4 separate regions of the Homo sapiens genome follow, and regions 1, 2 and 3 are each linked to region 4. Evidence: promoter capture Hi-C in 16 types of primary human blood cells and fetal thymus (Javierre and others, 2016). All regions are on one chromosome and are shown on one strand. The core of a region is centred on a gene start or on the middle of the fragment in contact, and the rest is flanking DNA. Distances in the headings are between cores, read along the strand shown. Region 1 overlaps LINC00972 (long intergenic non-protein coding RNA 972). Region 2 overlaps LINC00972 (long intergenic non-protein coding RNA 972). Region 3 overlaps LINC00972 (long intergenic non-protein coding RNA 972). Region 4 holds the start of SEMA3D (semaphorin 3D).

The links. The method cuts DNA at HindIII sites, captures the fragments that hold promoters and counts their contacts. A CHiCAGO score of 5 or more calls a contact.
Region 1: a contact is called between a fragment that was not itself captured here and the fragment with the promoter of SEMA3D in region 4, in 2 of 17 cell types (naive B cells and total B cells). The highest score is 10.3, in naive B cells.
Region 2: a fragment that was not itself captured here is called in contact with the fragment with the promoter of SEMA3D in region 4 in 3 of 17 cell types (total B cells, naive B cells and megakaryocytes); the score reaches 33.8 in total B cells.
Region 3: a fragment that was not itself captured here is called in contact with the fragment with the promoter of SEMA3D in region 4 in 3 of 17 cell types (total B cells, naive B cells and megakaryocytes); the score reaches 14.3 in total B cells.

Annotation. Positions count from the first base shown.
Region 1 is chr7:85,488,813-85,494,554 of GRCh38, reverse strand. LINC00972 (long intergenic non-protein coding RNA 972) reads right to left here. Exons shown (of 4, transcript NR_134240.1): 4 at 5,217-5,673. Among named protein-coding and RNA genes, the nearest start is that of LINC00972, 71 kb to the right of the region's middle. The HindIII fragment of the contact is 879 bases long and covers 2,671-3,549 here.
Region 2 is chr7:85,455,304-85,461,251 of GRCh38, reverse strand. All of the region lies in intron 2 of LINC00972 (long intergenic non-protein coding RNA 972), which reads right to left. Among named protein-coding and RNA genes, the nearest start is that of LINC00972, 37 kb to the right of the region's middle. The HindIII fragment of the contact is 4,061 bases long and covers 2,128-5,948 here.
Region 3 is chr7:85,472,084-85,477,554 of GRCh38, reverse strand. LINC00972 (long intergenic non-protein coding RNA 972) reads right to left here. Exons shown (of 4, transcript NR_134240.1): 3 at 2,195-2,303. Among named protein-coding and RNA genes, the nearest start is that of LINC00972, 54 kb to the right of the region's middle. The HindIII fragment of the contact is 6,248 bases long and covers 1-5,471 here.
Region 4 is chr7:85,182,939-85,188,447 of GRCh38, reverse strand. SEMA3D (semaphorin 3D) reads left to right here and starts at 1,392. Exons shown (of 19, transcript NM_001384900.1): 1 at 1,392-1,770. RefSeq lists a silencer at 1,521-1,580. The HindIII fragment of the contact is 2,551 bases long and covers 391-2,941 here.

The sequences.
Region 1 (5,742 bases), core at 1,861-4,360, 300 kb before region 4:
ATTCTTCTTGGACATGGTGCAAGAGCTCAGGAACCACCAAATGTGAGTGCAAGCTACAACACAGGCAACCTGGGGCACACCAGCATGGCCAAGTGAGGCCCAGGCAGAGCATTGCCAGCTGTGGGTCCTGGCTTACAAAATGACCAAGAAGAAAAATCCTACATCAGTGTAAAGAGTGTCAAAAACATTGAAGTATCAAAATGAAAAATGAATCATGCAGTTTTTCCCTTGCCTTATTCTAGGTATTTTTAGACTATTTTTAATTTGGTTGCTATGCAGACCCATAGAATTGAATCTTTTTCCTCTTCCTGTTAAGCATTTCATTGTTCCAGAACTGAATTGCAACAAAATGTATTAACATTTAAAAGTAATAAGTATTTAATTTCTATATAATGAAGGCATTACCTAAATTTGACAGTGCTAGCGAAATTATAATGAAAAAAATAAAGAACAGTAGAAAATTGTTTATATTATGTCCATGATAATTTGTTCAGGAAAAATAGCCATTTCTTTCTTGGAATAATATGCCTTCCCCCTTGAATCTTGAGTGGATATTTTAAGGACAGAACCAGTATCTTATTGATCTTTGTCTTCTCCAAGACAAAGTAACAAAGTTACCACAAATGAATTGGCAGTAAAATCTACCAATGAATTTAGATATTAGGTGCTTAAAATTCTAGTTAATGAACATTTTCCAGTCAAAATACTAAGGATATTATTCAAAGAAGAAAATAAGTTTTGCTTCTGGAAGAATTACTAATTCTGGCTTTATATATAATTAACAATTTTTCAACTCTTAACCTGTGCTTACTTCTAAAATAGAGCATGTAGATAGTGTTTTAAATACAGCATTTTAAATTTAACAGCTTATATTATGGTGAATTATTTCTTCCCAAAATTTACATGTTGAAGCCTTAACCCAGAGTGCCTCAGAATGTGACTGTACTTGGAGATAGGGTAATTAAAGAGGTAATTAAGTTTAAATGGAATCATTAAAATGGGCCATAATCTAGTATATGTTGTGTCCTTACATGAGGAGGAAATTTGGATACAGACACACACAGAAGAAAGCCCATATGAACATACGCAGAGAAGATGACCATCTGCAAACCAACAAGACAGGCCTCGGAAGAAATTAACCTGGCTGACACCTTGATCTCGGACATTTTGCCTTTCAGAATTGTATGAAATAAATTCCTGTTGTTTATGTCATCCAGTCTGTGGTACTTTGTTATGGCAGCCCAGCCAAACTAACACAGCTAGCTTTTAAAATAAGGATATAAAATATTCCACTTCCATGGAGTTATCATTTTAATAAGATATGAGTGTTGTGTTTCAGCCATATGTTAATCTCATTATATATGGTTTTGTAGGTAAACATTTGAAATTTCTATCAAAACCTGTTACTATTTTCCTGTATAAGTTTTGAGACTCTTATATTAACACCGCTATTGTACTGTAAGAGTAATCATTGGGGCTCAATTTAGAATTCTGAAAAAATATGTAAATTAAAATTTTGGTTTAAAGTAAAATTGATGGCTTTTAGAGGACCATGGTCTTGTATAGATTTAAACAAGAAATGGTAAAAAGAAAATTCAAATAAAAGACAGGAGTTTAATAAAGAATTAAAAATTTAATAAAGAAACATTGGATGTCTACATCCAATGTTTTCTTTGGCTAAATATGGAAACCCAAACATCTAAAGGTTTTGTTTGTTTGTTTGTTTGTTTTGTTTTATGGAAAAAAAAACTTTGGAGAGTGTATCCCCAATGGGTAAACTGGGAAGAGTATAAAAAATAAGTCCAATAAAAGAGGCTGATATATTTTTACCAACTTTGATTTTAGCATGAGGAAGTAATTACAGCATGGAATTATAAAATGCTATTTATACATAAAATGTTTGGAGATGGTTAATTTAAAAATATATCCCAAGTAATTTACAGAGAAATGATACTCTGCACCTTCAGTTAATTACTCCACAAGGAAAACAAAAGGCAAGTTTTCTCTGCTGTTTCAAATTTGTGATATGGCCCCTCAGATGTCTTTGGTTAGATGCCATAACTAATGAAAACACCACCAATTTAGTGATAATTCCCACACAATCTTCTTAGTGAAGTTCATAGTGGAGGTAGAGAGGTACTGGTAAGCCCTAACCTCCTGAATAAACCTATCTTAAAAGTAGCATAAATCGCTGGGGGTAATTTTTTTCTTTTTTAATGTTGTTAGTACTGTCCTCTATAAGACATCAATGTTTTGCTCATGTGCCCATTTTTATAGGTAATTCAGAAAAGTAAAGGTGACCAAATAGAAAATGAAAACTAAATTTTTCATAAAACTACCTGTGTTTTATGTCTAATCTAATATTTTTCCAGGCATAGATGGCACACCCAAAAAACTATTGTATAGATATTGCTATTCTTATTAATATGTATTTTTTCCTTAACTATAACAAAAAGGAAATTAAATGTTAACAATAACGGGTAATATATTCAAGTATACATGGTATAAGTCAAGATAAAATTCTGAAATTAAAGTTTTCAAAACTTAAAAGGTAATTTGAAAGTAGCTATAGTTTTGTAGTTCTAAAACTATTAGAAAACCTTCCTTATTTTAGATGGATTGCAATGTTTCTAATGTTGTTCAGGTGCCAGGATTATAGAGAGCAAAGCTTGTGAGAACTAGGCTTATTTGGTGAAGAACCAAGGAGGAGCCTATCTGTATAGTTCACCCAATTATTGTTATCCACCAAGACTGTTTTGAATTAAATGAAACATTACATGTATTTTAGGGCCATACGTGCTGATATATGCAAACACAGAATCTTGGTCTCTGATTTATTCAGAAAAGGAAAAAGGAGAAGAAAAATTTTTAAAAGAGAAAAGAAAAAAGAAAGGAAAGGAAAAGGGAAAATGGTTAGGAAAATAATTGGTGGCATAGAAGTCTGCCTTCACATTCCAAATTTTAAAAATCTAGATGTGGCTTATTAAAACAAATTTGGAGAGGAGTAAGTGAAGTTCATGAATCAAAAATATTAGCTGTAATAGTATGAAACTTCAATCATATTATGAACAACAAGCAATATTCTCCAAATTGTTTTCTAAGGCAAACTGCAAAAGACAACTTTTCAAAGAAGGGCAAGTATTGCCAAAATCTGATTCTTACTTGTCATGAATACAGATTGCTGAATCACTCTTTCTTTATGTATTTGTCAAATGACACTCAGATATTTTTAGGTAAACATATTTAATTATTCCTGATTTCTAATTGAGCCTTGTATGACAAATCAGTTAATGTAATGGAATTTTTGAATTCATGATTCTAAAACCATACTTCAATTAGCAATGATATCCTACTCCTCAACCAACCTTAGTATCTTGAGGGAAAAAAAAACCTGTGTATCTCTCAATTTTATACAGCACTGTAATTTACATACTGTTGAGCACATAGTAATCATTTACTGTTATTTGAGTAATGAATGAAATTAAGAAAGAAAAGATAAATGGGTATGGATAATGAGACCATCTGTCCCAGTCATTGCACACCCAAGCTTGTCAATTACAGCCAACGCATAAAGCAAAATTGAGATAAATTTGCTGAAAACGATTGTAGCATAAAGCTAATCATACTACACATGGAATACCCTATAACATTGTCAATAAAATATAAGACTTTGATTTCAATAATTAACAAATTTCACAATTACCACCAGTTGAATTATGTCTAGATTTCTCTGGACTTTCAGTTCTCTAATTTTAATTGTCTACTAGATAAACTGCCCAGAAGAATTCATGGAACTACAAATTTAATAGGGTGAAAGCCAAGTCTACTAACCTACCTCTCAATCTAATAAAAATGTCTGCAATATACAAGTCCCAATTCAAAATAACAGAAATGTTTAGCATAGTTTGTCAAATGTATTTCTTAGCTAGTTAGGCAGTATAATTTCTACTTTGTCAATACATTTCTCCTTTCCTTTCTTTTCTGTCTCTCTCTTTTTTTTTTTTTTTGTACTTTGTATGGCATCCTCATTGTTCTCTTATCTCTTCATTGGTGTCGTTATCTCCTCATTGGTTTCATTTCTTTATTCTTGCCCTATGTTATTTCATTCTACTCAAGACTTCAGATTAAATTTTCTAGATCACACTTAGAAAATGTAATTATACTAAAAAAAAAGCTACCAAATTTAATAAAAATTGCCCAAGTCAGCATCCAAAATTAAAGCTCTGCATAGTTTTCACGATTTAATCCCAATAATTTCCTATGGTCACAAAAGTCTAATACAAGCTCATAACTTTGCTTCTCCCTAAAATGTCACCCTCTTTCTGTGTGTTGAAATCCTTCAGTCTCATAAAGTGTAGAATCAATTTTGTGAAGACTTCTTGATATTTCCAAACAGATGTGATACCCTTATCCTCTAAATTGTTCCAATGATATTTGACAGTGCTAATTATAATGTGTCTAGGTGTTTAGCTATTTTTATAGTTTCTTAAGCACATCTGATGCATCTATGAACTACCTCATTGTGGGAACTCTGCTCTATTCTGCATTGTATTTATTATAAAACATAGCTCCAAATTTTATACAGAGTAGTCAAAAAAGCCATGGAATGAAACTTGAAAGTCAGCAAACTAAATAAAACTTGATTACTCAAATCCATGTCTAAGAGCCTTTGCTGTCTACAGAAAACTCGGTTACCTACTTAGGGAATCCCTTACCACAGTGTTTGATAGCTACTCTGTGACTCAGAGTAAACATCTGGATGTCTGACTGGAACTATCTTTGTGGTTTGATGATCTTTGAAAAAATAATATATTTGAAGGACTGTTATCAGTGAAAATGCTTTTTTAATCCTTTTTCCATGCAGGTACTGACCACAGAGAGGAGTCCCAGATGACTAATGTAGTGGAAAAATTTACTATTCTTTAGCTATTTTTTGTCTGGAAGATTGGTGACCATATGTAACTCATGCTTGATGCTGAATCAGGGAAAGAAAATGAAAGGGAACCATTGGTATAGTTGGGCGAATGGCCCAGACATACGCCTACACTACTGTCAACTCTAAATAAAGAATAAAAAAGCCATGACCTAAGTCACCAAATTGAACCTTTTCCTGGTAAATATAAACTTAGTGCTTAGAAGATTGCATATAAAATGGCATTAGAGAATGTATAGTATTTCTTAATGTAATATACACATTACAATAAAAAACACTTGGCTTATTTTATACAAATTTATTTTAAATAATACTGTATATATGAAAGAAAAATCACATGGAAAACCATAATTAGCTTTCTGCAAAACATATGAGGAATTCTATTAAAATATGTTAAGACAAATATTTATTATATTTAATAAGACATAAAAATACAAACATTTGGTAGAAATTACAAGGTGTAAAATGTAGGACATGATTAAAAGTTTTCCTAAGTTAACTGTAACTAGTAATTTATTGTTTTATATTTATAGATAGGACATTTACAAATCAACTACATAAGACACATAAAAGTTTTATATCAAAGCAGATGCTATCTATATTCTTGCAGATAAAACCAAATAAACAGAAATATAGCGAGAACGCAATTTTTGATGCATTATGTATAGTGTGTGTCAGCTCTGAAAGGGCCTTGATCGTATTCATCATTGTATTCCTGGACTGAGCACAGCACCTGGAAACTGAAAGATAATAAATACCATTTAAATGAAAAACTGTTAGAACTAATAAACAAATTAAATAAAGTAGCA
Region 2 (5,948 bases), core at 2,909-5,408, 270 kb before region 4:
GCTCACAGTGTACAGTGTAGCAGCTAATAACAGCTCAAAATCTAGAGTCATCTCCTCTATCTGAATTCTAGTTTCGCCCCTTGTGAACTGGATCATTGTGGGCAACTAAGTGTTTAACTACTTAAAATCAACTTTCTAATCAGTAAAGTTGTAATAATAATAGTAAAATCAGCATGGTTTGGGAAAGATTAACATATGTAACATAATAGCATATTTTATTAGCTATTATTTGTATTATTATGGTTGTTAATTTTACTCTGGAAGACAATGGGAGAGTTATTCTTACCCCTCATTGACCATAAACAACAACTGAACATAAACATTATTACATGTATATCGTCCATACATGTAAACACTGAGATGAGACTCAATGCAAAATATATTTCCATATACTAAAATATCACAAATATCCCTAACATTTAAAATAATTCAGAAGACCAATTTCAGAAGACCCTTCCTAAATGGACATGTGCTTTGATTTCCAGTCCTAATGATCTGGTAGCTTTTCAGGTATTTGTTATTAAGATTGGTAAATAATACTATTCCTTCCAAGGTAAAATTAGATGAGCCAGAGTCTGGAGGGTTATCTTTCATAAGGTTTATTATAAAGTTATTTATTTTATATGTATTCTACATAGGGAAGTAGGAAAACAAGTATATATATATATATATATATATATATATATATATACACACACACATATATATATACGTATATATATGTATATATACGTATATATATGTATATATGTATATATACATATATATACGTATATGTATGTATATATGTATATATGTATATATACATACATATACGTATATGTATGTATATATGTATATATACGTATATATACGTATATGTATGTATATATGTATATATACATATATACGTATATATACGTATATATACGTATATATACGTATATATGTATATATACATATATATATGTATATATACGTATATATACGTATATATACACACAAACACACACACACACACATATATACACACCCTGGTAGTCTGGAAATAAATAAGTATGCTTAAAGTTGCCATACTTCCCATTTATTGTCTCACATAATTAACCAGGTGTTCACAGAAGCCAACTTTGAGGTTTCTAAATTCTTTCCATCCTCTCTGAACCCTTGGGATAACACTTACCTTAGCGAAAGATCAGATTCCTTCAGAGCGCATGAAGAGAACTGTTTATTATAAGCTATAAGTGCCAAATGATTTATTGGAAAAACAGCAAAGGTTATTGCACCCTACTCTACATGAATGCCTCAGAGTTTTGTTGTTGTTGTTGGAATTTAGCTGATTTCGTTAAAGAGAATGTAAAGTACTACTGAACATTGTAAATAAATATAAAAGTCACAATAAACAAGAGCTACCTTTTCTAAATTAGACACCTATTCTGTCTAACCAGGTAAATCAACAAATGAAAAATATTGCAGTACAGCACTTTTAGAAATACCAGAGAAAAAGCACATTAACCAAGACTTAATATCAGCCAAGTGTTAGAAGTTCAACTAGCACATTATATTGCCAATATATATGCTCAAAAAAATACATTTTGAAACATTATTCCTCCTATGCTAACAGAAGAATTTGAAAGCCATACATCGTCGATGAAAGATGAAAAACAGAAAATCTTTATATTTATAATGTTATTTTTCATAAATGTATAAGAGAAAAGTTTGATTACAGCATTTGTAACTATAGTCTTGCATTTATAATTCTTCAAATATTAACATCTTCAAAAATACTTGTTAATAATTTTGATAATGTCTCCCATAATGTCAGTGATGTAAAAAAGCATCAAGTCCTGAAAAAACCCTCAGTTAAAATAATTACTCTTTATTAAAGCTCAGGGACTTATATTTCATTCTGTCCTAGTCTGATTTCTTATAATCATGATTTGGCTTGAGTTTAAGGTACCACCATTAAGATGAAATTAGCACATTTTTACTTACAATTGTCTTGAAATTTATAGAACAATCATCTTACTTTAAAGTTTAGCTTTATTTCCAGTGGAATAGAAAAATCATATGCATTGTTCATAATATATTTGTTATGAAAGTAATTTATTTTAACACAAGAGTATTAAGTGTTGAAGTAGGGAATAAGCTTATTTTAATATTATTCTATTAAGATAAGCTCAATTTTTAAAAAATGTTTGTGTTTATGATAGAAAATTAATTTCAGAGATTTATCTTCTTAATCAGTTCCAATAACTTACTAATATCCTTCAAAAATATTACTAATATTTCAAACAGTAACTATAAATTGTTTTATAAACAGCCTTTCAAATTAGCTTCTTGTTAACTAACAATAATGATTTAGAAAACGGGCAAATATTTCTACCTTATACATAAGATAGATGACTTCAACTCTAAATCTTTTCACCTAAAATCTACTTGATTTGCCATTAAAAATAATAAAATAAACTGATTATTTTAGTAATTATTTTTACTCTTATCTATGTTAAAATATAAATAAAATGAAAATGCATAAATGCATATATATCACAACAATAATTTTCAAGATTTTCTGATATATTGTATTGTAATAGGATGATAAGTCTTCTGTATGAGTGCCTAAATGGTTGTGTTAAGATGATTGATATATTTGGTAGCATTAACGCTTAATTCTAATCTTGATTTCAGAAAGTGACAAAGAGATTTCAAAGCTGGTTTTAATTCATGATAAAGAGCAGCCCACATGCACTCTGACTAAGGGTATGGAAGGCTGCTTATGGTTAAAGAAGAGATAACGTTGATATTTACATTTTGCAATCCAACTGAGTTTATTAACATTTAAAATATTTTATTTTGGCATTTTTTTCATATTAAATGTTGAAGTTTTCTTATAATGTCAATTAGACAGCAACTAGACACCAACATATCAAATATTTTGGAGAAATATTATTAAGACAGAGGATGGAAAGGTTAATTTTATTACAAAATTGTGCAATCTCCTTTGAAGGCTTAAAAAATTGGCCCCAAGTCTTCACCCCTATTCGTGTTTACATCTTAGCAACAGCACTTTGACGTTTTTCCCATCATGAAGTGGAGTCTGTTTCCCCACTTTCCCCACCACTTAGTTCTGGATTGGTTTCATGATGTATTTGATTAGTAGACTTTGGCAGAGGTGATACGGTAGCAGGGATAAGCCTAAGCCTCAAGAAATGTGAATGCCTCTGCTCTCTCTCTCTCTTGGATTCCTACCATTCTGTGAGCCCAAGCCCAAGCTACCTTGAAGATAATAGACTATGAGAAGTGCTGAGTGCCTCAGCCAATAGCCGTCTTTCCTCAGAAACAGACCACAGATGCCTGAGGGTGCCCAGTCAGATCAGAAAATCAGGCCAGCTAAGTCCGGCATAAGTAACCCACCTATAGATTTGAATAATGTTTATTATTGTGTGTTACTGAGCATTATGGTTGTCTTATAGCATTATTTTGTTACTAGATAACACATACATTCCAAATCTATGTCATGTTTTGTTACTTTCTTCCAATTTTCTTCATGTTGATCTCTCATTATCTGAGAGGACTGAATTGTGTGGATAAAGCAATGCTGGCTAGAAAAAGAGAGAATTAGGACTAGCCCCCAAGTTTTCTATATGTGCAAACAAAGAAAATATATTCCAATTTCCAGGGTCTCCTTTTCTTCGTCTGTATGATGTATATGTATTATGTGTTGTGAATGATGGAAGTGAAATGAAACGTTTCATGTCTCAGTGTTCCACTGCTCTAATATTCGATGATTCCATGATCTTAAGCTAAACAGGTTCTAAACTTCTTACACAACTGTGCTATTCATGTTCTCACAAATTAATCTGACAAACCAAAGCAAACTGTTTTTAAAGATAAACAAAAATACACTCTATAATAGTTTCCACACAATAATTTAAATAGTAAGAAAATTACTTATTAAACTTCTTTCTTTAGGCCAAGGAATGCTAAGTGGTTTATATATGTCATCCTAAGGAATCTTTTCAACAAAAATGTAAGATAGTTACTACCATTCTCTATTTTACTGTAACAGAGAAACTGAAGCTCAGAAGAGTTAATCAACTTCTCTAAGTTTACTCAATAAATGGCAAAGCTATATTTCAAACACATGTCTGACTCTGACCCAATGTCCACCTATCCACCTATAGTCAAACAAGTGTTTTTGAGGCTTGTCTTAAGTGCATAGCTGACGACTTGTCAGATATTAAGAAATATTATTTTTCAATGACTCCAGAAGTTACACGGTTTACCTATGTGTGAGCAAAGCTCCTACCAGACCATAATTAAACATTTCCTGATTCAGTGATGCATTATTTCTTTGGTAATTAAAGAATACTTCTAAATCAGGATATGCAGGGGGAAGTGATACAACAAAAATAGTGATACTTAATGGTTCTCTCTGTGTTAAATCAGTTTCCTGAGTAAAAGTTGTAAAAAGCAGAGTTTGTGCCCCCCAAAAGATAAGAAACTTAATCAAGTGACAGTCACTTTCTTTTCTTTTTAGTACAATATCATACAAGATATAAGTGATTTTGTGATGATAGTATAGGTATTTATTAAACACCTATTCTGTGATGAGGATAGGAAAGTATAATACATAGTCTATCCTCAAGGATGTCATCATTTTTTCAAGATTAGATACACTTTGGATATACCACATTGGTCCCATGAACAAACTTGGCAAAGAGAAGTCAGCCTATCTCGATAACATGGGTGGGGGAACTGAAAATGGCCATGTGGTCTTGAATTGGGAATTGTGGATAGGATTTAGAATCTATAGGCTATGTCAGGAGAGGACACTAGAGACCACATTTTCAAATCTCTTTCTTTGCAGGTAAGGAGATTGGTACCCAGGAAATATAAAGATAGGGCAAAAGTAACAGCCTACAAAAGGTTGATTCTATCCATACAAAAGCAGGAAAAAAAAACACTAATAGAATAATCAACTTCAAGACATACTAGTACATATTTTTATGTAATTATGAAAATTTACTTTTATCTGGTGAAATAGGAAATTTGGATTATACTTGTCAATATATAAAATTAAAATCTTTTATAACTCTCTCAATGTCATTTATGGCTCTTAAGAATGAGTTGTCACTTGAAAAACTATATAATTATTGCTTATCAGAAAAGGAAAAGTGTTTCAAAGAGACAAATTTTTTTCAGAGATATTTTGGCTCTGAAAAGTTACAGGTAGACAGAAAGATAAGTTTTCCTCATTACAACTTAGAAAAACAGAGGTTTTCTACAGTTTACATCTCATTTGGCCATGAGATAACAATTAAAATTATAACAAATTTCACTATTTATATTTTCAAGTAACATATTATTAAGTTAGTTACATCTAAGTCAATTAAGAATTTTACAAAGTAGACCAACTTTCTGACAATTTATGTTCTTTCCTTTTCTCTGCTCCCTCTCATTTTCTTTTGTTAAATTAACTAGACAAAATATCAAACTAATATATTTTAACAATTGTAGTTATGTTTTTGCATTATTATTAATTACATTTATTTTATTAGTCTCAAAAATCAAATTTAAGTATTTTTTTGCTAATGTAGTCCTCAAGATTCTTAACTGGAAAAACTGTTTCCCTATGAATTATATTCTACATGTTTGCACTACAGCTAAATAAATTCCTAAATCTAGGGCCTGAGAATTTTCTAATTTAGTGGTACTAGTATTTAATAAAAATACTTAGTAGTAAAGCATTTTCATTTAGTTACTTACCAACCAAAGAATAATAGCCTTACCTTGTTCATGTGTTTAAACTAACCATTTAACTATGTGTTTGTGTGTGTGTGTGTGTGTGTATGTATATATACATAAAACCACATATAAAACTGTATATGTTTTAATATATATGGTGTGTATATATGTATAAACATTATGTTGTTCACCTTAGGTAAGAAAAGTAAATAGGGAGTACTCCA
Region 3 (5,471 bases), core at 1,743-4,242, 290 kb before region 4:
TAGCCAAGAGATGGAAGCAGCCCAAATGTCCATCAATGGATGAATGAATAAACAAAGCATGGCATATACATAAAATTGAATTTTATTCAGTCTTAAAAAGGAAGGAAATCCTGTCACACATTGCAGTATGGATGAACTTTGAGGACATTATGCTAAGTTTAATAAATCAGTCACTAAAAGACAAATACTGTATGATTCCACTTACATGAGATATCTAAAGTAGTCAAATTCATAGAAACAAAAAGTAGAATGGTGGTTATCAGGGCTTGGGAGAAAAGGGGAATTATTGTTTAATGGGTATAGAGTTTCAGATTTGCAATATGAATGAGTTATGGAGATCTAGTTCACAACAATGTGAATATACTCCACACTACAGAACCACAAACTTAGAAATGGTTAAAATGGTAAACTTTACGTTATGTGGTTTTCACAATAATAAAAAGTAAAATTAAATTAAACATGCTAAGTTTCAGAACAAGAAAAAAATAATAGAATTATATACTCATTGTTATAAAATCTTATTTTATTCCCCTAACATGTCTTGAGATTTGCTCATATTAGTTCATGTAAAGTTACCTCAGATTAAAAAAAAATTGTAGAATATTCCATTGCACATGAGTATGACTAATAATGTGAGTATAATATAAAGACATTCTCCCTACTTCATTCTTCATGAGTTCTGCTTCTAAATGAAATAAATAGTAAGGAAATTCACACTGAATTTAACTGGAGAAACAAGTTCCTCAGTTTCCTTGTTAAGATAGTCATTCACTATATTTTTATCTGGTAACATTATTTTCTCCAGTCTGAGGAGAGCAGAGAATTATGGCCAGACTCTATTTATGGGCGTACTAGATTGGTTTGTTTTGTTTTGTAACTTGGCAGTAAAGGTGAAACTAGCAATACCAAGATTACATTTATCTGGAATATATATATATATATATATATATAATATATTATATATTATATATAAATCAATAACTGTTTCTCAGTTCACTTTACTTTCATAGGTCACAGTTTTTATTTGAAAAATCAAGAAATTCTTGATAATTAATTCAAAGTATTTGACCCTCAGTTCTAGTGCTATACCTTCTTCCAGGGGTTTCACAGCAAATTCCTTTTCAGTGGCAATACCAACTGACTTGAGGAAAGTGGTTGGGGCGTTGTGTTGGTTTTACATTTCCTACAGTCCTGTTATCCAACTACAATTGGACATAGTAGACATTCAACAATGTCTTTGTTGTTGAGGGGTGCAATTATAACTTTATTTCTGTCTTCACAATAAGACAAATGGAAAGTATAATATTAGAATAATTAAGTTATAAGATATTTTACTAAAAGTACAAGAGTAGTAGTATTAACAGCATTCAGTACAACATTTTTTTTTAAAATTTTCTATACCAGAGATTGTTTTTGGTCTTTATATATGTTATTTCTAAGTACTTAAAAAACAGACTTACAGAATAGAGTTGCATGTTTAAACAAGGAATTAGGATTCAGAGAGTTGAAGTGAGTTATCTAAGAACACAGAAAGTAGCAGAAATACAAGTCCAGATCTCTCTGGCTTCTGTTCTTTCTTACCATTACATCCTGTTGCTATAGGAAAAGATAAGGTTGTACTTTCTAATGCTATCTTCCTAAGTAATACCTAATCTAAATAAACTTCTGATGGGTTTCTATACTAATAAGAGAAAACTCCATCAATCAAGTGTGGAAGTAGTCTTTCAATTCAATATTTAGCTATTCAATAAGAAACTTAACATTTTATTTTTAAAATTTAAAACATACTTAGAATTCTAACTTAGTTGAAACTATACATTAGAAACTGAATGACCCAATCTCCGGTCACAAAGATCATGTAAAGTTGAACTTTGAGTCAAGGTTGTTTGCTTACCAAATTTGGTATATGTTAAGTGGCATGTAGCTTCCATAAATATAGAGAACACAAAAGGTCTTCACCACATCTGAGTTTGGGTAACACTTCATTTCACCAAACACAAATATAATATAGCTTTTCTATTCTATATTTATGGGGCAGGTGTTCACCGTATAATAATAAGTTTACTAAAGTAATGTCAACTGGCAAAGTATACCCCACAAACAATACTGGTAAATACAGTAGATTCATGGGGAAAATGTGCTGTTTATTTCTGTTTTCCGAATGGAAGGAAAAGTTATAGTACATGGCAATTACCTTGAGGCTTTCTGCTTCACGAAAGTTGGCTTCCAATTTCATTACCATAATTCTGCAGAACGCAGTCAGTTGCGGTCACAGTCTCTGCCAACCCACCTTCAAACTCTCCCTGCCAATCAGAGCAGAACATCCTGTTGTGGGAGTGGAGTAGTTAGAAGTTTCATGGTATATCTTTCAGAAAAGAATAAACTAGCATTATAATTGAGGTCATTGCCAAAACATGGTATTCTCATGAAAAGATGTGATAGGATTAAGCTGTCATTAATGCTTATTAGCCGGGGTTGGGGGGAAATCTTTCCTAAACAGAACTTTTAACTTAACTGGAATTAACTGAGGCTTTTTCTAAGTAAGTCAACTCAAAACAGTGGATATTTACTGTTTTTGTAACATGTGCAAGATGCTTTCTTACTATTTTACAGACCATAATCTATAATATTATCATTTAATTTTTGCATATTTTAGATATAAATCCACTTGACAAATTAATATTAAGCACCTAATTTAAAGGAACGAAATTCTGTGCTGATAAACTATTGGCTCTGTGTCTTAATTATTCCCTTGCACTCTTTTGTAGAATTGCTATATGTGAAACCTAATAGAATTTAAATAATAATTTTTGTTCATTAATTTATCTGTTATTGAGTACTAAACAATGTTCTACGTGTAATGTGTGATTGAGTACTAATAAAAATTCTATGTTCTAGGTGTAATAGAGAGAAATAAGGAAAATAAACTGAAAATGAAATGACTACTATAACAATGGCATATGTGGGGGTTATTGAGTTGCAAAGGAAAAAAATTCTTTCTGACAAGATCAGGAGATGACTTCCTATAGAAAAATGCAAAGTTAAACAAGATTGTCATTTAAATTACCTCAACTTGATTCCCCTTGGGGGATTTCTACTTAATAATTTTCTTTCTATTTTGGTACAGGCCAGCAAAACTGCTCAGACTACTAAAGGAGCATATTTGTGGGCACTGTCTGACTCGTATGAAGATGCACATGTGAGAATGTAGGTATTCAGATCGAAACCAGATAAATGTATTTTTCAATGCTGTAATTTTGAAAGATGAGCCTAACAGAAAAGCCATCTTAACATAAAAGTATATCTAATTCTTTATGACTTTGAATTTGTTGCATTTAATTTTCATTACAAATATTATGTAATTTGGCTTCTGAAATTAATATATACAAATGTTATATATTTTCTAGTTTCTTTTTAGAATGACAGTAATGCAAAACAAATGCCAAAACCTACTCTTGTCACCTGCACTAGAAAGGAAAAACATTCACCAACTAGCATGGGTCACTTACTTTCCCAGAGGAGAGGAAATAATAAAGACAAACAGCATTTTGATTTTTTTTATTTGATGTGATAGTAAATCTACTACGATTTTTGGTAACAGCTGTGAGTAGGTGTTTAAAAGAATATTTCTTTCCTGTTTCTTTTGGTGACATAAGTCACTTTGATTCTTTCTCTTTGACATCAATATGAAGGAAAATGTTAGTCTAAATGCTCCATGATGCCAGAAAATATACATTGTTTTGTGCATTTTCTAGAGAATTAATGTTAAACAAAATGTCATTATTAAAAATTTCCAATTTTATTAGGATATAGTTTTTTTGGTAATTTAAACATTTGCATTACTTAGTAATCAGCTACAGTGCTAATAGATAACATGATATATTAACCTAAACTGGTTTTCCACCTGAACATTTTATACCTGCTAGTATGTTTAAAAGATGAGTAAGTGTCCAATTAGGAAACAATTTATGCAGCTGATATAATGAAGCACTAGATTTGCGAGTTGGCTTTCTCAAATCTATTTCCTTAGGAAGCTGCACATTTTATTTTTTACATACGCCGCACTTAGAGTGCTAATGGAAATAAAGATTAAGCAATAATAATGATAATAATACTACCCTATTAAAACATTGCTATCCCAGTTGTTGTTGTGATAGTGGTGGTGATAATGGTGGTGGTGGTTTGCGCCCTCCCTCTCTCTGTATCTTTGTCCTTCTCTCTCTTATTTTCCTTCTTCTTCCTCTTTTTTGCATCTTATTTGTCCTTCTTTTAGTTACAATTTTATCAGACTTATTAAATAGAGTCACAGATAAGTTTTGAAGCATTCACTATCAGGAAATTGTTTAGAAGCACACTTCCATATTTACTATCTCATATATGCATGATACATATAATATTATGGAGAGCAATTGAGGTCATGCCTGGAATCATCTGATGATGTCCCAAGACTAATCTAACATAAGTTCCATTGTTATTCTCATTCCTTGTGATTCTATGACTATGGATTTCTACTCAGATATACTATTCCTTAAAATATTATAAACTAAGATTTTTAACTTAACAGATTTTTAACATATATGCTTCAATTATTCTATTGATTAGAATCCTAATAATGAAAAGATAACTAATGGCAAAGTAGTTAAGGGTATTATATACAATATATGTTGATAGAACATATATGTTGATAGAACATATATACAATATATGTTGCTTTTATACTTTGTGTTAAAAGCATTGTTGAAAACATAAGCAAGTTCTACCTATTCTTTGGTTTCACAATGATGACAAAATAAACCTTAAAATCTGTTAAAGAGTGGTGCAAATATTCATAGGAGACTTTAGAATTGACACTAAAATTACTTATCTATATCTGCTATCTATCTATCTATCTATCTATCTATCATCTATCATCTATGTCTGCTCTCTAACTATCTATCTATCTATCTATCATCTATCATCTATCTATCTATCTATCAGTCTCCCTCATCTCCTGTCTTCACCACATCTGATGGTTTGGGTTTTTCAAAAGTTAATGATGTTTGGGAAAAGCAGACACAGTCTGTTGTCAAGTTTTCACTTGGTCTAAATTCAAAATCTATGAGAATAGACATTCCTGGTTACACAAGATGCAGAGTCAGACAAACAAAATTACAATGACATATCCTCCAGTTTTCAATCTAATCCATGGCATTTTTCTAGGAATAAAATAAAATCTTCCGAGGCAAACTTTGTTTACAGGTAGAATAACTGCTTCGAGTAGTTTCCTCCCTATAATGTATCATTTGTCTGCATGCTTATAATAAACATTCATTTAGTAGTTTATCTGAACTGTCAGGGGATTCAATAAAATTCTGTTGAGCATAAAATAATTGAGTTTGCCATTCTCACATACTGAAAGAATGTTTTGAGTTCAGAGAGAGGGAAACAACTCACATAAGATTACTATAGTAAATTTTTTCCAATAGTGTTTA
Region 4 (5,509 bases), core at 143-2,642:
ATTAAATATAAAGCATTCAGAAAAAAAATAAAAGTTGCTATAGTTTGAAATAGTCTACGAGGATTTAAAATTTTTTTCTCTATCCAAAGAGGGTATTTATGGGGTTGATTGGTTGTGAGTCCAAACCAAGGTTATAGAGATGGGGCAGCATGAGACACAAGAAAGAGCCTTGGTCAGATTTGAGAAACCTGAGCCTTTCCTTAGCCTGACTCTGCCATCAACCATTTATAACTTAAAATGACTCCTTTAGCTTCTGTGGCCCTCAGCCCTCTGCCACAGATAAAAGGTCAAATGAAGAATGTCTTCCACCCCTTTCAGTTATTCCATTACTGCATTTGTCTGTTCACCATCTCCAAATCAAGATATCTCTTGTTACTTGCTAAGGAAGCTTTGGGACCCTACACCTTGTGCTCTTAAATCAAGCTGACAAATGCAGGATCCCGTGGCTGCTTGCTTTCCATGTCTCTACCTCATGTCAGATTTATGTTTGGGACTAAGGGCAAGGTGTGTGACTATAAACCTGGATATCCCATCACAAAGGATTTACCATGCAGCTAAAAATGCCTAACGTACAGGGCTCACCAAATGCACAGGCCTTTTTAATGTCCCTGACGGTGGCCTCATGAACTCTCATTGTCATATATTTTTGCAGAATCTGTAGAAGTGAGATATTTCTGCATTACTTTTGCTTAAAGAGGATCCTCTATTCCAATTGCATAGGATCCAGGTTCATCAAAACTTAGATCTTCTCGTCATTATATACTTCTAAGTTCCTACTGTGTGAATAAGGGGTGCAAAAATCTAAAAAACTCCCGAAGACAAGGATATGAGGCACACCTCTTTGTAGGTCTGGCGTAAGGGAAAGAGGAAGAAAGGATTACATTCTACTCGTTTTTATCTCTCCCTGTTTGGTCTTAATCGGGTGCCAGCCCCTTAACGGAGGGTTGATCCCTGTTCCTCATCCCTATGCCTGCCTTGTCAAGGCCATTAACCGTGGATTGAGGTTTTACATAGTGGAACGCAGGTACTGTTTTGTGGGATTAGCATTTTTAGGACGGTGTTTGTGGTCACTCTCCCTGTTTCTTCCTCATGGGGTCCCTTAACAGGTTTTATGGTATAGAGAAGGAACTAAAGAAGTCCCCAAGTCACCCAGAAGGAAGATCAGACGTTAGAGGTTGCTTTACACATAGGGTGCCCTGTCCTGATAAACATCCGTCAGCGCTTGGCCAGGGCTACCTCTAAATCCACGCTGCTGGCAGCCTCCGCGCAGCAGGGATGAACTTCTGCACGCTTGGGAGTTCTGGCGTGCGCAGTGGAAGGAGGGGGCGAGGGCTGGGGGAGGAGATCGGAAGGGGAAAGGTAATCCCCGGCGTTTTCAGCATCCTCTTTTTAGAAAGACTGAGTCTCTCCCAGGACAGCTGCTGCGGTCACACCACAAACTTAAAAGCCGCCCTCCTGTTTGGAGCGTGCCTTTCCTCGCCACCCTCTCCTCCCCAAAGCTCCAGCTGGTGCCTTGCTCTCCGCCTGTCCTAGCGCGGCTCTCGGGGGAGGCAGCAGCGCCCCCTGCCTCCCGGCCTGGCCCCTGCGGCCGCAGCTTCCCGGCTCTGCCAGGGCTGCCGGCGGCTCCGCTTGCTCAGCCAGGGCTGCGGCTCAGAGGAACGCGCGCCGGTGCCCCGGGTTGCCGCGCCGCTGGACCTCAGCCTGCATCCCGTTCCCCTCTCCCTGAAAAGGCACCAGGAAAAGAGAGAGGGAGAGAAGAGTTCACAGCAGGTAAGTCTGGTTTGGGTCACCTGCTACTCCAGTGGGAGGGTGTGCTGGAGACCGCGGTGCTAAGCGGGGATAGCCGGGATTTGGGGGTGGCTGTGGGTCCGAAGTGGAGGACGAGCATGGTTTGGGAGATAAGGAACCGTCCTGAGACAGAGAAGGCTCCCGGGAGCGGACAGAGAGTGGGCGAAATCGGTGCGCAGTAATCGCGGCGCCAGCTTCAGCGCGGCCCCTGGGGCGCAGTCCCACCCCGCCTCAGCAGCTGCGGAGCCTTCTGACGAGCCTCCGCCTGGCAGCACTGCACAAAGTTTTCCTCCTGAGACGCGTCCAGGAACTTTGCTCTCTCCCTGGCTTCCTGGTTCCCCCACCACCCCTCCTGGTCTGGGCAGCAGAGAGCGTCTATGAATGTGTCCCCGGCTTCCGCAGGCTGCAGGTTCATTTGGAGACGCTTTAGTCGGGAACATCCGGGGAGTACTTGACCAAAGGGCATCTGCGCCCTCGCTCGCTCCTTTCCTTGTTGGTCTGGGAGAAGGGAAAGGGGCAAGGAAGAAGGAAGGGAAGCGTGGTGGTTTTTGTTGTAGCGTTTTGGAAGAGGAATGGGCGACGCCTTTTTCTTCGCCGGGGAATCGCGACGTTCCGTCTGATGGAAGTGTGCATCCTTTTAGATTTAGAGGGAAAGTTGGAGTCAAACAGCAGCCACAAAGCTGGCTGTCTGAAATGTGGTTAAGGCAAAACACTCGGGGGATCTCTTTGTAGTAGTGGGCTTGGCTCGCTTTGGAAAGGCCGGATTTGACTCGTGCTGGGCATTTAACCAGGAGTGCGGTCCCCAGGGTGTTTCCTCCCGGCTTCTGCCCAACGAGCCTGGAGTTAATGCGTTAATGGGCTACCCTGGTAGCGCACGGGCCGTTTTCGGCACTGTTTCTCCTTCTCTGATGACTCGAGTTCAACCTCCTGGGCTGAGTTGCTTTGCCTCCGTCACAGTGCAAGGAGGGAAGTTGACAGGAGGAGGAGACGCCGCGCTGTGGCAGGGAGCTTTGGGATCCAGGGGACTGGAAGAGAGCCGCGCGCCAGCAGCTGGGGCCGCTGGTGTCCGGGATTCCGAGTTATGGGGACAGGAGTTAAATAGCCGAACTTTCAGCGATTTCGCCTCGAGCGAAGCGGTAATAAAAGGCAAGCTTCTGTGCGTGGACTCTTATTTCATCACCAAAACCCCACCACTTTCCGTTTAGCTTAGTGCTATTTGCACAAGCAAAAGAAGAGGGGAGAAGACCTAAACTTTCCGGTTTAGCCTAAAAAGGGTTCTCCTGCATGTGTGCGCTAGCGGGGGATGGCGGGGTGGGGGCGCGCAGAGACGAGGGGGAGGATCTCCTAACAGAGAGGGAAGGGTTGAGGCGGAGGTAGAGGAGAGGTCTGAGACATCTCCTGGGTCTGGTGCTGCTGCTATTGTGTAACCATGGCAACCGCGGGGGCAGGGGTGGTCAGAGCCTTCCCAGTTCTGCACGTGGAAAGAAAAATGTGAAGGGCAGAGAAGGGAGAGAGCCACATGTCATCACTCCAGTGATGCCTTGCCTTCTCCTTTTTGTTCTCCTTTTCCTTCTCCTTTTCCTTCTCCTTTTCCTTCTTCTCTGAGGCCAGATAGCAAGGAGGATGAGCAAGAAGACACACATGTCATCACTCCAATGATGCCCTCCCTTCTCCTTTTCCTTCTCCGAGGCCAGACAGCAAGGAGGATGAGCAAGAAGATCGGGGTTGGGAGTGATCAGCCCCAGCTGGCCACTGCTTTAACCCAGTCGGGTCTTAGAGTCTCTGAGACTCGCCCCAGCGGATAAGACGGGTCAGGGGTGCCATCGCTGACAGGCGCAAAGTGATGGCCCTGGTCAGGGAGATGGGCAATGACCTTGGCTCTTGGAAGGGAAAGGCCAGGAAATACAGGAAGGTGATGTGGGACGAGATAAGAGTAGGGTCAAGGGCTGACAGACAGTAAAACAGTACTGATTCGAATTGCCAAAATTTCCAATGGAATTTGCCCAATTGTGAAATGGAAAGTTCCTAGAGAAGGGAAGAAACATTTATCAAACACCTATTGTGTTTCAGGTGCTGTGAACTTTATCACAATTAATATCCTCAACAATATGATACAAGTGTCATTATTCTCTTATTCTTTTCTTTTTGAACAGAAAAGAAAAAAAAAACAAAGACATAAAGATTTATAAATGGGTATTGTCCCATTTTGGCTTTTATGTTCTTAATGAAGAACCGTAATTCTTAAAAAAAAATTGTATTGCTGGGGGAATAAGCTAGGTAGTTATTATTTTAGAGATGATAATAAATGAGATGCAAAAATGTTGCTTGATGTGCCCAAATATAAGCTAGTAAGGGCACGAACTGAGATACGAACTGTTTTACCTGGGTGTGGGTCTCCTTTCAGAAACTTCAAGAAAGTTGTCATGACCCCACTTAATGGGAGGGCTTTCTAAGGTCAGTTATGATGCTGTATCTGTATCTGTTATCATTTACATGTGGAGAACACTCAAAATTTTAAATGCAATTCATGGTTGAGAATGAGAATGAACCACATCAAATCGATAAGCCCAGAATCGTATGTATGTGATATTAATGATCTATTCATACCTACAGGTTTCATTTTCCTTTGTAGGAATTATTAGTTTCTTTAACAATGTCCGTAAAGGAAAAAAAAAAGAAAAAGAATTTATCAAACAGAAATCCCATGGTTGTATTAAGAACATTTCCTGAGATTAGTTAGGTTTTCCTCAGTCTACTTATTGTCCTCATGACCTGAATACCTAAAAATTTACTTCGTATTTCAGTACCATTGGTTCACTTTTGTAGTTCACTCTGGTTACTTTCCTGTTGATGTTCTGAGATGGGAGGTTAAGAAAAAGTATCTGGCAATGTAAAATGTTTTGGAATTATCGGGAAACTATCATCAACACTAGCAGAAACTAACGATAAAAGATAGAAAAGTAATTGCTGTGGCTTTCTTTTGCCTTTCACCAGAATTGCCTTCATAGGTAAGTCTTTACTAATGATTTGCTTTATATTTTGCAGAGGAAAAATACACAAAGAAAAACTGAATTTGTAATCTCTCTTTTATGTGTGGGGAAGACTAGTAAGCGTGGGAATGGGAATTATTTTTGGTGGCAGGGAAGGTCAGGAATATGAACAACTAGAAAGGCAGAGGAAGCATATCTTCTACTGTTTCCGACAGGCTAACAGACCGGACTTCAGGTTTGAACTTGAGTCACCAAGCTGATTTACTCTCACATATTTTTCTTTTCCAAAACTAAAAAGGATATTGCTTGGGGTTGAAGTTAAATTAATTCAAGAAGTTTCATAGTCTCCAGTTATTCTTCATACTGTGCTCTCAATCCATTGCATGGATATTTGTTAACTATCAAAAGGGTTATCATAAACCAGAGGTGTCTCTGAAGATAACTTCGGGGGTTGGCAAGCATCTCTGTGTCTCAGTGTCTGTTTACTGTGTTAACAAAGCTACTGGGCTAACTCATTACTATTTTTATTATGCCTGTGTAATATCAAATTCTCAATCTCAAGGGGAAGACATTCTGACTGGTGCTAGTTTAATGAATATTATGTCTTCGGGTTGTTTGTTATAACTTCATTATTTTGGAAAAGCAAATGTTGACTCTGAACTTTGCTGTTCTGTCTGGGCGGTTCAATACATTGCTGACACATGTTCCTTCAGAATCATCCTTGTCAATTA